Regions from separate parts of the Homo sapiens genome. Here region 1 is linked to region 2. Evidence: promoter capture Hi-C in human tissues and cell types (Jung and others, 2019). All regions are on one chromosome and are shown on one strand. Each heading gives the region's core, a stretch centred on a gene start or on the middle of the fragment in contact. The rest is flanking DNA. Distances are from core to core; before and after follow the strand shown.

What was found. The method cuts DNA at HindIII sites, captures the fragments that hold promoters and counts their contacts. A contact is called where the count stands out against the background at its distance.
Region 1: a contact is called between a fragment that was not itself captured here and the fragment with the promoter of DKK1 in region 2, in 1 of the 25 tissues and cell types used here (lymphoblastoid cells).

Annotation. Positions count from the first base shown.
Region 1 is chr10:52,710,080-52,717,607 of GRCh38, reverse strand. All of the region lies in intron 1 of LOC105378305 (a long non-coding RNA gene), which reads left to right. Among named protein-coding and RNA genes, the nearest start is that of MBL2, 59 kb to the left of the region's middle. The HindIII fragment of the contact is 8,163 bases long and covers 1-7,528 here.
Region 2 is chr10:52,308,859-52,316,367 of GRCh38, reverse strand. It overlaps DKK1 (dickkopf Wnt signaling pathway inhibitor 1), which reads right to left and starts at 2,087. Exons shown (of 4, transcript NM_012242.4): 1 at 1,691-2,087; 2 at 1,283-1,445; 3 at 1-73. The coding sequence starts at 1,933. It overlaps PRKG1-AS1 (PRKG1 antisense RNA 1), which reads left to right and starts at 2,240. Exons shown (of 6, transcript NR_038277.1): 1 at 2,240-2,734; 2 at 2,883-2,970; 3 at 6,831-6,968. The HindIII fragment of the contact is 6,920 bases long and covers 1-5,962 here.

The DNA of each region.
Region 1 (7,528 bases), core at 2,232-4,731, 400 kb before region 2:
CTTTGAGAACTACTGACATAGGAGCTAACTGTAATGGAGACCTCTTATATGTCAGTATGAACTAAAATGTTTAAGTAAACTGTCTTCAATTATTATAGGCCATACACGCTTCTTGGTATCCTCAAAATTGATGCTGATGATTATAGATTTACCAACTTGTGTTTTATCTCCAGCTCCCTAACACAGATTTCTTATACGTTTTCTTCTTCTCTTTTTATTTCTTTTATGTAGTAATTTGTTAAGAGAAATTTGCATTATCTCTATCATTCATCACCATGTGCAATATATTCAAGCTTCATTATAGTACTAAATGTATTTTACGTAGGTTTCTTTAAACTTTTATTTTAGGTTCAGGGGTACAATTGCAGGTTTGCTATACAGGAAATTACATGTCATGGGAGTTTGGTGTGCAAATTATTTCATCACCCAGGTAATAAGCATAGTACCCGAAAGGTATCTTTTTGATCCTCACATTCCTCCTAGCCTCCACCCTCAAGTAGGGCCAGATGTCTGTTGTTCCTTCTTTATGTCTGTATGTACTTAATGTTTACTTCCCATTATAAGTGAGAACATAAGTATTTGGTTTTCTGTTCCTGTGTTAGTTCGCTTAGGATAATAACCTCTAGCTCCATCCATGTTGCTGCAGAGAACATGACCTTGTTCGTTGTTAGGTTTTTGTTTTAAAATAAAGCTACTTATTAAGACATTTTTCAGACATTAAGTTAAAGGTACATCCAATGACTTTATGCTCTAGACAGGCTAGTTGGAACAGACGATTTGAAGCAATTTGGTATTCAGATCACATCATGAAGGAAGGGCAGGTTTTATAGAAGCAAAAATACTAGAAGTCCATAGGGCTAGAAAGAAAAAAAATCATACTTAGGAGTTATTTTGATAAAATATGTATGAAAAACCTTATGGTCAGAAGCAGCTAGAAAACTGTTAGAGCTTTTAAAATTCTGATTTATTGCCAGGAAATCTTATTGAGGTACTACCCAATTCAAGTAAAAGAATTTGAAGCCAGAGATTTGAATGTTGAAAACAATTATGAGGATATTAAGATTGAGAAAGAGAGTGAAGAAGAAAGAGCAAAAAGGAAAGAAGCAGACGGAGTAGCTGATTAAATTAGGACTCAGATGATGAACCCCTTGCAAAGTAGGACCATGTCTATGTACCTCTTACATAACCTACCAATATTCAATAGATCATGTTTTTGCAAAATGCTTATCAAACTGCCTTACTGTTTTCTGCTATTACAGTGTTTTGGGGGTTCACCTCTTCAGGGTAACCATAGTTTTGCCTTTTTCACTCTCTCAACGTATTTATTTCTCCCATCCTTATAAATTGACCACTTTTCAATCTTAGGTTTTAAAATGGCTGACTAGAGAAATATTGTCACTAATATAATTAATCAGTATAAATCAGACAGCCTTATATGACTAAAAAACCATACAACTTGACTTGCTGAAGCCAAAATGGCAAATTCGTCTATCTCTGAAGTCTGAAGAAAGACTGGACCACTGAACACCAGGAAGAATGTGCATCATCTGGGGCTGGGATCACCTGAAACCAGGCACTTCAGTGCTCCAGGATTCATTCTCCATTTTTCCCCTCAGGAGATATTTGGAAATAGTGATATCCATTTGTATCAATTATGTATGATTATTCCAATTTACTAATGAAGAATTTAAGGCAAGAGGTTTAAGTAAATTGCCAAGGTCATACAACTAGTGAGTAACAGACACAGACTAGAAGCAAGACTATCCTGACTCTAGAAACTGAACATTACCCCTCTACCTCTCTGATCGTGGCTACTCAGCTATTTCCTATTTTGCCAGTACATAAGTTATTAACGCTAGTCATAACTGAATACATTGATATAAATTTGTTAGTTATTATTGTTGTGTTTAAATAGAAATTGGTAAAAATTAGTTGACAGCTTAATGAACTTCCATGCCTTAGATATTTTTTATCTTTTTTTTTTTTTTTTTGAGATGGCGTCTCACTCTGTCACCCAGGCTAGTGTGCAGTGGTGCGATCTTGGCTCACTGCAAGCTCTGCCTCCTGGGTTCACGCCATTCTCCTGCCCCAGCCTCCCGAGTAGCTGGGACTACAGGGGCACGCCACCACGCCCGGCTAAAATCTTTTTAAAAAATAGATAAATTGCATTGAAACCCAACATCTGAAATGGAAAATAAAAATCAGTCATTGTCAATACTATATACTAAATGCTATTTATCTTTATTTACTTGCTAGAAAAAGTAATCTTGCATTACCAATATGGACTTGCAGCTAAAAATTCAGAAAATAAAATATTTAGGGGACTTTTTACAACAACAGTGACACCAATGACAACAACAAATTTCTGCTGATCTTACCCAATGTTCCATAATATTATTCTGGTAACTTCACTGTTATAGTAGAATTGGCAACACCCTAACAGTATTAACCTCCATTATTATAGCAACATAAAATATAACTTTTAAATGTTTTGAAATTAATTTTTTAAAACCTTGTCTTATTATTTATCACTAATTTGGCATACTGTAAGAGTCATTAATCTAAAAGGAAATTTTGGGTTGTCTTTTACCATTATCATTGTGTACTTTCATCAATAATACTCATTAAGTGTATAAGCTGACCTTCATTTACATTTAAATGTATTTTTATTTATAGGATTTTCCAATCTTACTGAGAACTAAGTTAACATAATGTCCTTCCTTCATGATATACAAATATATCCCAGAAAAGCATTTGTAATATACTTTGTATTTGTATTACTGAAAAGTTAGTAACATTTTCTTCTCTAGTTTTTTGTGACTCTTTAAAAATATACGCTTGTTATAGTATGTGACAGATGTTAATAGAATTTTCCAAAGGTATTTTCTATAAACTTTACACCTATTATTATGATGTAACAACTGAAAGTCATGATATCATTTAAGAAATCAAGTTTGAAGAACTAAAAAATAAATTTTAAGAGACTCTTGCGTCAAGAAAGATAGAGTTGAAGTATTTTTCCTCTATTCTTCCTGGTAAATACAAGTAAGAATCCTGGACATTATATATAAAACAAACATAAGAAGACTCTGCAAGATGGAGAAAAAAGGATCAACTAGCTAAATGTTTTAGAATCTAAGCAAGAATACAACAATAAGTTTTTAAAGTTTTCTTGTCATCTCACATATTCCAGACTGGGCACTGGAGAAGATGGCCACCTGGAAAACAAACTGGTACAAAGAAAAAGTGCCCCAGGAGAAGCTGGATGCCTTGATCCAAAGGTCTAGGAGAGGAGATGTCTAGCAAGACAGAAACTTTTAGTAACTGCTCTTCTCCAACCAAACATCACAAAAAAAAAAAACAGGGGCCCTACTCCCAACTCCAAACAACCAAGACTGAGTGTAAATGTAGCTTTTACCCTCTCTAGGCACAATGAGATACTCCAACCTCCCCGCCAGAGTGGTGTCAGAGAAGATTCAGTAGATATCCAGGACTTTTACATCCACAGGGAAAGAACAAGCCCACACATGCAAGGATGTTAAATGAGAAAACTGGACTTCCATTCTTACATTGCAGTAGAAACACCCTGTCCCACTACCAGAGTGGTGTCAAAGGAGAGCTAATAGAGAGTCAGAACTTTCACTATACTCAGCAGTAATAAAGACCATACTACCTCATGGTGTCAGTGGAAGACCCTTGAGAAGTAGTAACAAGGCATCCCTGACCCTCCTAGCCAGGCTGGTATCAGCAGAGGTTAACTGGGATGCCAGAAGTTCCACCTCCATCCAGCAGTAACCAAGAGGCCCTCCTGCAAATGAAGGCTGAGTGAGAAATTTGGATTTCCATCCCACCTGGCAGTGAAAGGCGATGTCTACCTTTCTCTTGCCAGAATGATATCAGAGGAAACCTGCTGAAACAGAACATTGAAAAAAGACACTGAGTCTTATAATAACTTAATTGTCTAGATTTCAATAGAAAAATCACTCCGTATACCAAGAAACAAGACAATTTCAACATGAATGAGAAAGGACAATCAATAGATGCAACATCAAGGTGGCATAGATATTAGAATTATCTAAGAGGGATTTTAAAGCAACCATAATAAAACATTTCAATGAGCAATACAAACATTACTGAAACAAATTTTTTAAAAGAGAAAATGTTGACGAAGAAATAGAAAGTTTCAGCAATCAAAATAAAGAAAAATAGAAGGTATTTAAAAACACAAATAAAAACTTTAAAATGGAAGAATATAATAAAGAAGACTTTAAAAATAAATTCAATGGATGGCCTCAACAATAGAATACAAAGGACAGAAGAAAGACTCATCAGGGAACTTAAGAGTGAAGCAATAGAAATTACCAAATCTGAAGATCAGAGACAAAATAAAAAAACGACAAGAAAGGCCGGGTGCGGTGGCTCACATCTGTAATCCCAGCACTTTGAGAGGCTGAGGCAGGCGGACTACGAGATTCGGAGATTGAGACCATCCTGGCTGACACGGTGAAACCTCGTCTCTACTAAAAATACAAAAAATTAGCCAGGCATGCTGGCAAGCACATGTAGTCCCAGCTACTCAGGAGGCTGAGGCAGGAGAATCGCTTGAACCTGGGAGGCGGAGGTTACAGTGAGCCAAGATTGCGCCACTGCACTCCAGCCTGGGTGACAGAGCGAGACTCCATCTCAAAAACAAAAACAAAATGACAAGAAGAATACCACCTCAGGGACCTGTGAGACTACAACAAAAGGTCTAATAGTACTGTCATCAAAGTCCAAGAAGGAGAGAGAAAGAAAAAAGAGCTGAAAATATATTCAAAGAAATAATGGCTAATAATTCTCAAATTTGGCAAAAGCCATAAACCAACAAATTCAAGAAGCAGAGTGAAAAACTAACAGGGTAAACTCAAAGAAATCACACCAAAGCCACCATCATAGTCAAACTTCTGAACAATAACAACAAAGTAAATATTTTGAAAGCAGGGAGAGAAGAGTGAGATCTTTTCTTTAGGAGGAAAGATAATTAGGATGATAACAGATTTGTCATCACAAACCATGGAGGCCAGAAGAAAGTAGCATAGAATTTTTTAAGTGCTGGAAAAAATAACTATTAATCCAAAAATCTATATCCAGTTAGAACACCCTTACAAATTAAGAGGAAATCAAGACATTTTCATTGAAGCAAAGCTAAGACAATTTGTCACTAGCAAACATATTCTAGAAGAATGGTTAAAGGAAGTTCTCCAAACAGAAGAAAAATAGATATTAGAACATCATGAAGAAAAAAAAAAACAGAAAAAGTAAAAATACATTTCCTTTTCTGTTAAGGTTTCTAAATTTTGTTTAATAGTTGAAGCAATAATTATAATGCTGTTTAATGTGATTCACAATGTATGTAGAGGAAATATGTTAGACAATTATGAGTGGGAGAGGGTAAAGAAAAGTAAGATTTTCATATTTCACTTGAGTTGGTAAAATGTTGATACCAATAGGCTGTGATAAAATATGTATATACAATATCATACCTAAGACATTATAGATAAATCAAAATAAAATTCTAAAAAATGTTCAATTTAATTAACTTACAGAAAGCCATCAAAAACAAAACAGAAAAATGAAAAATAAAACAGAAGAAAAAAATAAAATGCAGATTTAAGGCCTAATATATCTATCCTTCCATTAAGTGTAAATGGTCTAAGTACACCAATTAAAAGATGGAGATTTCCGGGTGTGGTGGCTCACACCTGTAATCCCAGCACTTTGGGAGGCCAAGATGGGCAGATTACAAGGTCAGGAGTTCAAGACCAGCCTGACCAACATGGTGAAACCTGGTCTCTCCTAAAAATACAAAAAAATTATCTGGGCGTGGTGGTGTGTGCCTGTAATCCCAGCTATTCAGGAGGCTGAGGCAGGAGAATTGCTTGAACCCGGGAGGCAGAGGTTGCAGTGAGCCAAGATCACACCACTGCCATCCAATCTAGGCGACAGAGCGAGACTCCATCTAAAAACAAACAAACAAAAAAAGACAGAAGTTAACAGAATGGATTTAAAAACATGATCCAACTATGTGTGGTCTACAGGAAATTCACATCAAATATAAGGATATAAGCAAGTTGAAAGAGAGAGGATGGAAAAGATACACAATGCAAATATTAATCAAAAGATATCGGGAGGGACTAGATTAATAATGTAGACTTCAAAGTAAAGAAATTACCAGAAAGACAGGGACCTTACATAATGATAGAAAGGTCAATCTACCAAGAAGATGTATAGACCTAAATGCACCAAACATCAGAGCTATAATATACATGAAGCAAAACTGATACAACTTGAAGAGGAAATAGACAACTCCACGATTATATTTGTAGACTTCAACATTCATCAATAAACAATTGATAGAACAACTAGACAGAAATCCACAAGAATACAGAAGAACTGGACAATACCATCAACCAATAGGATTTAATTGACATTTACAGAACACCAGAATTGACATGATTTTCAAGCACCCATGAAACATATACCAAGATAGACCACATCTTGGGTCATAAAACCAACATTAACATTTTTAAAAGAATTGAAATTGTACAGAGTGAGTTATATAATTACAATGGAATAAACTAGAAATCAATAACAAGAAGAACAGGAAAATTTTTAAACTCTTGGAAAAAACAAATATTAAGAACTGAGTAAATATATTTATGTCTATTAATATTTGCTATTGCTATATTTTAAAAGATCAAATGTTATACTGTCTCTGGCTAGAATACCAGTTAATTTTTTTAAAAAAGATACTGCATTTATTCCCATATGATAAATGTATTTGTTCAAATTATTACATTAATGAGTAAATTAGATATTTTATATCCAACACCATTTTATATACATATATATATATAATATATATATATATATTGTCTGGGCATGGTGGCTCACATCTGTAATCCCAACACTTTGGGAGGCCGAGGCAGGCAGATCACTTGAGGTCAGGAGTTCGAGACCATTCTGGCCAGCATGATGAAACCCTGTCTCTACTAAAAATACAAAAATTAGCGAGGCATGGTGGCATGTGCCTGTAATCCCAGCTACTTGGAGGCTAAGACAGGAAAAATCACTTGAACCCAGCAGGCGGAGATTACAGTGAGCGGAGATGGCACCACTACGCTCCAGTCTGGGCGACATAGCAAGACTCTGTCTCAAAAAAAATTTTTTAATAATATATATAATTCTATATTTTATCTTAGTCATCTAAGTAATATACAAGGTACCTTCTATGTGTCAAGTACTACTTTAGATGTTTGGCATACATCAGTGGGAAATATAGAAAAGGGGTATCTCTGCTGTTGAGAGGCTTCCATTCCAGTGGAGACAACATGACTACTAAATAAATAAATAAATAAACAAACAAAATAATGATAGAATAGAAGGTGACAGTGATATGAAAAAAATTAAAAGAGAAGTGTAAGAGGATTTGAGAGTGCAGGGCAGTAGGGGACAGAAGTTGAGAGACAGATTACAATATTAAATAAAA
Region 2 (7,509 bases), core at 838-3,337:
TTACCAAAGCTTTCAGTGATGGTTTCCTCAATTTCTCCTCGGAAATGATTTTGATCAGAAGACACACATATTCCTAAGGAAGCAGGAAATAGTGATTAACTTCAGGGTTGTAATGCATTACTGCTAACAGCTGTGACAGTGGCAGTCTGTTATGCCAGCATCAACTTGAGATACTTCATTGCAGTGACATCATTTTAAACACAAGCCAAACTTCCTCTTTACTGTTAATGCAAAACTCTCCAGATGGACAGAAGCACCAATGTGTATACTGTATACAGTCAGTCATAGGTAATATCCCCAGTATAGCCATTTAAAATACTTTCCCACCAACTGTGGTAGGGGCAAGTGAGATTTCTGCCCATTTTAATATTACCTTTGGGGTAAGAAAAAGAAACTCAGTCACTTTAAAAATGTTCTTAAAAATAACTTCTCTGCCCCTGGTGCTATATGGGTCCTACCAGACTAAGTTAAGCAAATGCAATTCCAGCTGCCTGGAACATTGCAATCTCACCGGCCAGTTACTTTACTGTGTAATTTCTATATTACAGAGATTTACTTAGTTCATCCTGGAGTACTGCTGGGTCCTAAGGAGGGTCGTCGCCCTGTTAGCTTATTTCTGGAGACCTCTTTAGCTGTCTAAATCCACCTTTTGAAAAATTAAAAGTTAGTGGATCTGTGGTTGGGGGGAGGAGTACTTATATTAAGGCAGCAGAGGGTAGAGGGAGGGGGAAGGATGGAGAAGTCAAGTTGTGAGGGTACCAAGATCTCTCTTAAAAATGGCCAATGCAGATAAATCAGTCCTCTGGCTGACAACAGTTTCAGCAAAAATCAGAAGGCGAGGCCAGTCTGGCAAAACTGTGAGAATCACAATAAGAAAAATGAAAAGGACAGCTGAACGCCAAAGCTGGTTTCTTTGATATCTGTATGATCCCATCGTCCTCCTCATCATCCCCCTTCTCAATTGACCTCAAGGTTCTCCCCAGACAAATTTTTATGGAAGAGTCCACTACGAGGTGAACCGTTGTATTGAATCATTGAGGGACACGGAGGAAGATAAGGACCTCAGAGACCTCCCAACTTCTCTCTTCTTCCCGATTAAACACTTGCAATGAAGATACTTCAGCGGAATCCTGCATGCTGAACACCCATTTGCAGGTGGCGCCGCAGTGTTCTCAGGGCGGAGATTTCTCCCCCCACCCCCCCCAACCCCCCGCCCCCGCCCAATTCATAGACGCTCAAAGGCTGGACAGTTTTAGTGTGAAAGGGAGCTTTCAGGACTCACCATTTTTGCAGTAATTCCCGGGGCAGCACATAGCGTGACGCATGCAGCGTTTTCGGCGCTTCCTGCAGGCGAGACAGATTTGCACGCCTGCGTCCCCTCCGCGGGTGGGACTAGCGCAGTACTCATCAGTGCCGCACTCCTCGTCCTCTGCGCACGGGTACGGCTGTGGGAAGGGTTCGGGGAGAGGGTGAGGCACCCAGACGTCCAGGTACCCGCCCTCTTGGACCCGGGCGCTGATCACAGTCCTTATCTGTCCACCTCTCCAAAACCTGTTACTGCCCACTGCTCCCAAATGCAGGGTTACCAAATGCTCCCTGAACCGCACACATTCAGCACGTTCTACTCCCTCGTCTCCAGATAGGACCCTTTCAAGGTCAGAGCATCCTCTGAGTGCCCGACCCCTCTCACCTGGTAGTTGTCAATGGTCTGGTACTTATTCCCGCCCGGGTACAGGATTCCCGGCGCGGCGCTGACTGCAGAGCCTGGGTGCCCCGCAGCGCCGCCCAGCGGTGGGGGCAGGTTCTTGATAGCGTTGGAATTGAGAACCGAGTTCAAGGTGGCGCTCACTCCCAGCAGAGGGTGGCCGCCGAGAGCCGCCGCTACCATCGCGACAAAGACCCGGGTAGCTCCCGCTGCGCCCAGAGCCATCATCTCAGAAGGACTCAAGAGGGAGAAAGAAAGAGAAAATGACCGTCACTTTGCAAGCCTGGGTCCCCACGAAACCGTGCCGGTTCGGCTGCAGAGTCAGGGTCCGGGAGCCCCCTGCGGTCCCAGAGTCCTGACTGCAGGGAGCACAGAGCTCTGCGCCGCCACCGCCACCGCGGCTGCCTTTATACCGCGGGCCCGGAGCATTCCGGCCCCTTGGGAGGGAGACAACAAAGCCGGGATGGGATTTCAAAGCGCTGGGAGGGGCTGGGAGGGGGTGTGTTTGTGTACATGAAGGGGGGCCTTTGACACTCTTCACCCCGCCCCTCCCTTGCTTAGTCGCTCGGCTGGCCCGGCTCACCTTCGGGGTGAAGGCTACCAGCGAGCGTTATAGCAGACGACTTTAATAAATGCAGGCGGCAGCAGGAACTCTGGGAACTTGGGTGCCCTTGCCTGGCAGTAAGGGTTGAATTATCCGGATCTGAAATACTTTACAGAGCCGAGGGGTGATAGGCTCTGCAAAAGCACTTTTTGCCCCTCTCCTTTATGCCAATACTCGCTGACTGTGCACACAAGTCATATTCAGTATTAAATACAAACCGGTCTGTAATTCAATGGCTCTAGCAAGACGCCTCTGAGAGGGCCAGGTGGCGGGTGCAAGTTGCTCATTAACCCTTTAGAGTCGCAGTTTGCAGATCTGAGTTAGATCCCCGGCTTTGAGGTCCTTCAGTTGCCCTCCTCCCCCACCTCCCCCCGCCACTGCGAGAAAAATGTGCAAAGAGAAGGAAATTTGCACATCAAACGAGGGTAAGAAGGAAGAAGAGCTAATTCTCTTTTGATGGGAAGTTTAGAGAGGGAGGCGAGAGACTGGCGTTTAGAAATTAGATCAGGGGTGGAGGGAAGAGGGAAATGACCATCCGATAATCAAACCATTTAATGTTGTTCTTTGAATCAGGGCAATCGCGGCGGTAGATGAACTTGATTAGGCAGACGCGTGAGATCAAAGTGGCCGGGACCAAAGCGGACAGGGTCCAACGTGCCAGGTCAGTCGCCTTTCCCCGGTTCTCCCTTCTCAGTGGTGGGCTAATGTGGAGAAATAAGAAACCCTTAGGGCTTAGCGCCTGACTTCCTCATTAGTATATCACATCGCAACGCTTCCGAATGCAGGGTTTGCTCCCAAGTCTTACCTTGCACGGGACCACGCAATACCCTTTCTAGGGAGAAAAGAAACAACCTTGAGGAGAAGAAGAGCTGAAAGTGAATTAGAAAGTGAATTTGACGTCATTGAAATTGGTGTGTGGATATAATAAAGTAAGGCTGGTGTATAAGAATGATGTCATGCTTATAAATGGGAAATGATCTATTTAATTCAACAAAAACTTATTGGAAGCCTAGAGCCCTGGCATTGGGCTGCCCTCTGGGTTGTTACCTTATTTTTATTTTTTAAATTTTTTGGTGAGATGGGTGGTGGGGGGAGGGGCACAGTGAATACAAATATTTATGAGACACAGCTCTCATTTTAAATAATAAAGTTCTCTTTATTCTAATTACAGTAATAATAAAAGATGTAGTAACAATAAAATTATAGCAATAAATATAAAAGCATACATAATTCTTTTAAAAACAGGTTGATATTATAAGTGTCAGAAAATAAGCAACTGTTTTGTGAGTTTGGAAAAGGGAGAGATGATTGAATAATCACTATTGAATTAAAAAAGAGTAAGATATATTTATTTTGTCTTCCTCTAAGCTGTATAGATTTAGGCTGTCTATAATGACTCCACATGCTGACCTACTATAGTCAGAACTGGGGCCACCACCAAGTAAAGCCAGTGACAATCTTAAAGTAAAAAAATCCTAAAGTTTACTGGGAGAAGGAGTAATTAAAACACAATTTACTATGGTCTGTGTTCTAGTTCCTTCAGTTTCAAAGGTAATATTAAGAAGATCATCTAAACAATTCTTGAATGGTACCCTAGTTATATTAGTGTCCTTCCCATCCCAAATTCCATCTGTCCAGGAAATTATCCTGTCAGGAATCAATGCGTTAAGCACCTTCAGTGTACTAGGAAATCTGCAAGCTGTGTTAAGTTTGAATGACTTTGAAACGTAGAGAAAAATCCGCCTGCCAATCAGAAGGTTGAAAATGTTTCTTTTTAGTCCTATTAACCTGTTTAAATATTTTGAATCTAGAAATATATTTGTGCCACACTAAAGGCCAATCTCTTGCCTTTTTTTCTGAAGAGATAGTATATGATTAATACATTTAATGAACTTGGTTCATTAAAAGCTTGGCTTCACAAAAAAAATCCATTGCCTGGGGCAAAAGAAGAGAAAGTGGAACAATTTAATCAACAAAAGGAAAATTCTGTTATAACAAAGAAGCTTGTTGCATAAATTCAACCTTGATCTCTGAACACATATCATTTGTCTATTATGTTTCAATATTCACTGAGTCTGGACAGAATCTGTGGTATTGAGCTAGGAGAGCTAAACCAAGCATAGAGTTTCAAGAATGGGCTAGCTTCTACCTCCTTCCTCAGCTTTCACATTGCTCCTGAAGTTGTCATGAGTTTAAAACTAATAATGAGTTGGTCAATATCTGAGTTCCTACTTTGTGCTAAGCATTATACATGATATTGTGTGATAAAAGATGAGTTCACATATAATCTACCTTCAAATCATTTAGTGGGCAGAGGAGAGGTAACCTCACAAATTATTCAGGGGAGAAATTACATGGGTGGTCCTCAGAGAGGGCTAAGTACATAGCAAATCAAACCTTTGTTCCAAATGAGGAAATTTATTTTTTCAGTACTTTTTCTCCATTTGAAAATCCTTTCCAGGATGTGGTTTGTTCATTGGCAACAAGAGTGCAAGGTAGATAAAGAGGTATAGTAAAACTCATTGTTCCATCAGCAGCCAGTTAATATTCGGTGAGTATCCATTATTGGGAGCATATCTCACAATATGAAAGGCAGGCTTCTTGTCCTCAGCTTTCAGTCTGTGACTAGTTGGGGAAATACAACATACTTACATGGGGCTGGGGGTAAAAATTTTTCCAACATCGATTATATTTTGGCAGATACTAGGTCATGGAGAGCAAGAAAAATGTGCAGGAACTGTGACCAACATGTCTTAGGAAGGAGAGAGGGTTCTGGTGATTGTCTGAGTCTCTCTTACAGCTGGGTGACAGAGGAGGTGGGAGCCAGAGTAGATGAATTTAGTTTATTAAACTGAGTTTATTTAGTCCTGTAGGGAACCCTGCCTCCTATTCAGTCTGGTATAAATATGATCATAATTAATGTAACAAATTTAATATTTTGTATTATATTTTTGAATAGGTGAAATATGCTTATCAGCGTGGAATTGAACCTCATAACTCGGGAACAGCATGCTAACACATGTCTTCTTTATATTTTAAGTGCTGGATGCCATGCATAGAATATTTCTCAACCTTTTCATCCATGAGGGAGACAGACAAATATACTCCAAAACACTCCATGCTATTCACCAACTATTTTTCCATCTCTATTATTTGTGACTGCTGATTTTTTTTATTTTATATATTTTTATATATTTTTTGAGACAGGATCTCATTCTGTCGCTCAGGCTGGAGCACAGTGGTGCAATCGTGGTTAACTGCAGCCTTGACCTCCCAGGCTCAAGCGGTTCTTCCACCTCACCCCCAAGTAGCTGGGACTACAGCTGCATGCCACCACACCTGGCTAATTTTTAATTTTTTTGTAGAAACAGGGTCTCACTATGTTGCTAGCCAGAGCTGGTCTTAAACTCTTAGGCTCAAGTGATCCTCCCACCTTGGCCTCCCAAAGTGCTGGGATTACAGGAGTGAGACACCGCGCCCAGTCTACTGCTGTATTTTAAATTCCCTTCTTTCCTCTTTTCTTTTTTCTCTCCCTCCTTCCCTTCTTTCCTTCTTTCTCTTCATTAAATCAAAAGAAGCAGATTTGTTGCCATATAATTTTACTTTGCTAGGAAAATACCGCATACATATCATTCCTTACGGTGGGTGTTGCCAACATTTTTGTTAGTGTCAATCTTGAGTATAGCAGGGATTCCTCATTCCTGATGTTTTGTAAAAAATGATATGACTTTCTCATTGACTTTTAAAACAGTTTGGTCTTAATGTTCTTCATGATGTTAAAAGAACTTTTAGACCTGGTCCATGTTATGACTCCCCTGAGAGCTGGATTTTCTGCACTCCCCAGTACAAACAGAGGGCAAGATTTGACCGTGATTACATTTATTTGGGCGGTGGAGATGGCCAGCCCAGATAAATCAGGCTCCGTGGTAGCTTTCTAACCAAGCTCAGAAGATGTGTTTTACTGGAGTAAGACATTAAAAGCTAATCTGAGAGTAGAGGCTGGGTTCCAGCCTCTAAACCCAGTGAAGATAGTGCCTAACCAGATAGATATCTGCCTGCATCCTTTCTGAGGTCCTGACACTCAGAAAGGTCTGTGGTGGTGGGTATAGGGAGTGCAATGTCCTCTTTGAGTCCCCAAAGGATTTAACATCTCCAACCCTAAGGATAGGCCAGTGTCTGCAGAAAGCAAGATGTAGGATCCCATGACACAGTCTCCGCATCTACAGAAAAACAATTTTCTTCCATGTCACTGGGTTCCTATTATTACCTCCTTTATAAGACAGATCTTCTCCCAGGGTATGGCCAAGAAAGGCATCGTGCCAAGGAGTTAAGAGGCTAGGGATGGTACTCTGTATAGGGTGTCAGCCATAATCTGGCTCCTAAATATGGGAAAGCCATTTAACTCTTGGTGTGGTACTGGCTTTTCTTTATAAAATGGGATGCAGGGGAGATGGAGAGGTTCCTTTTCACTACAAAAGTCTCCCTTTCTTTCTCTCTCTCTTTCTTTTCTTTTTCTTTCAGCACTGCCAAGAGAAGGCCTTTTGTACTCAGGTTAAATAAGAACATCCTGCAAGGAGTCTGTTCTTTTATGCAGCCTAAAGATCAAGTAATAATCATTGACACTGATACTGAGCATGTCGATTTTGAAGAGACTAGCATGTAAGTATTAAGTGCCTGGAAATAAGGTGAATTACTTGGACCAGGCGACTTTTTAAAAAGTGTGTGTGTGTGTGTGTGTATGTGTGTGTGTGTGGAGGTTGTTTTCCCATCACAAAATTGGTTGTAATATTTAAAGCTGATGTTTTCAGCTATCACCAGTTCTCCAACTGGTGAATTGTAAAGGACCTTAAGGTGAAAAGTAGAAAGTAGGACCTTAAAAACACTTTAGTCTTGACACCCAGTCTTAGAAATGCTGAAGAGTGGAAGATGTAGGCTATTAAATAGAACTATTAACTTTTGGCGGGGAAGAGCAGGAGGGATGTATAATTAACTCGTGTAAGGATTCTTCATCACCCTTAAGTTACAAAAGTAAAATAATTTTCAGAGGAGTCTAGGAGTCCGTGGCAGGAGTCACGTCAGGGAACTACCTGGCTGGCCAACCTAGGGGCTCCCAAGCCTGAGTCCTTCCGCAACGGCCCTGCCTCCAGTGCGGGCGCGTTTCCCAGCGCGCAGGCCCCGCGCCCTGCACGGCGCAGCACGG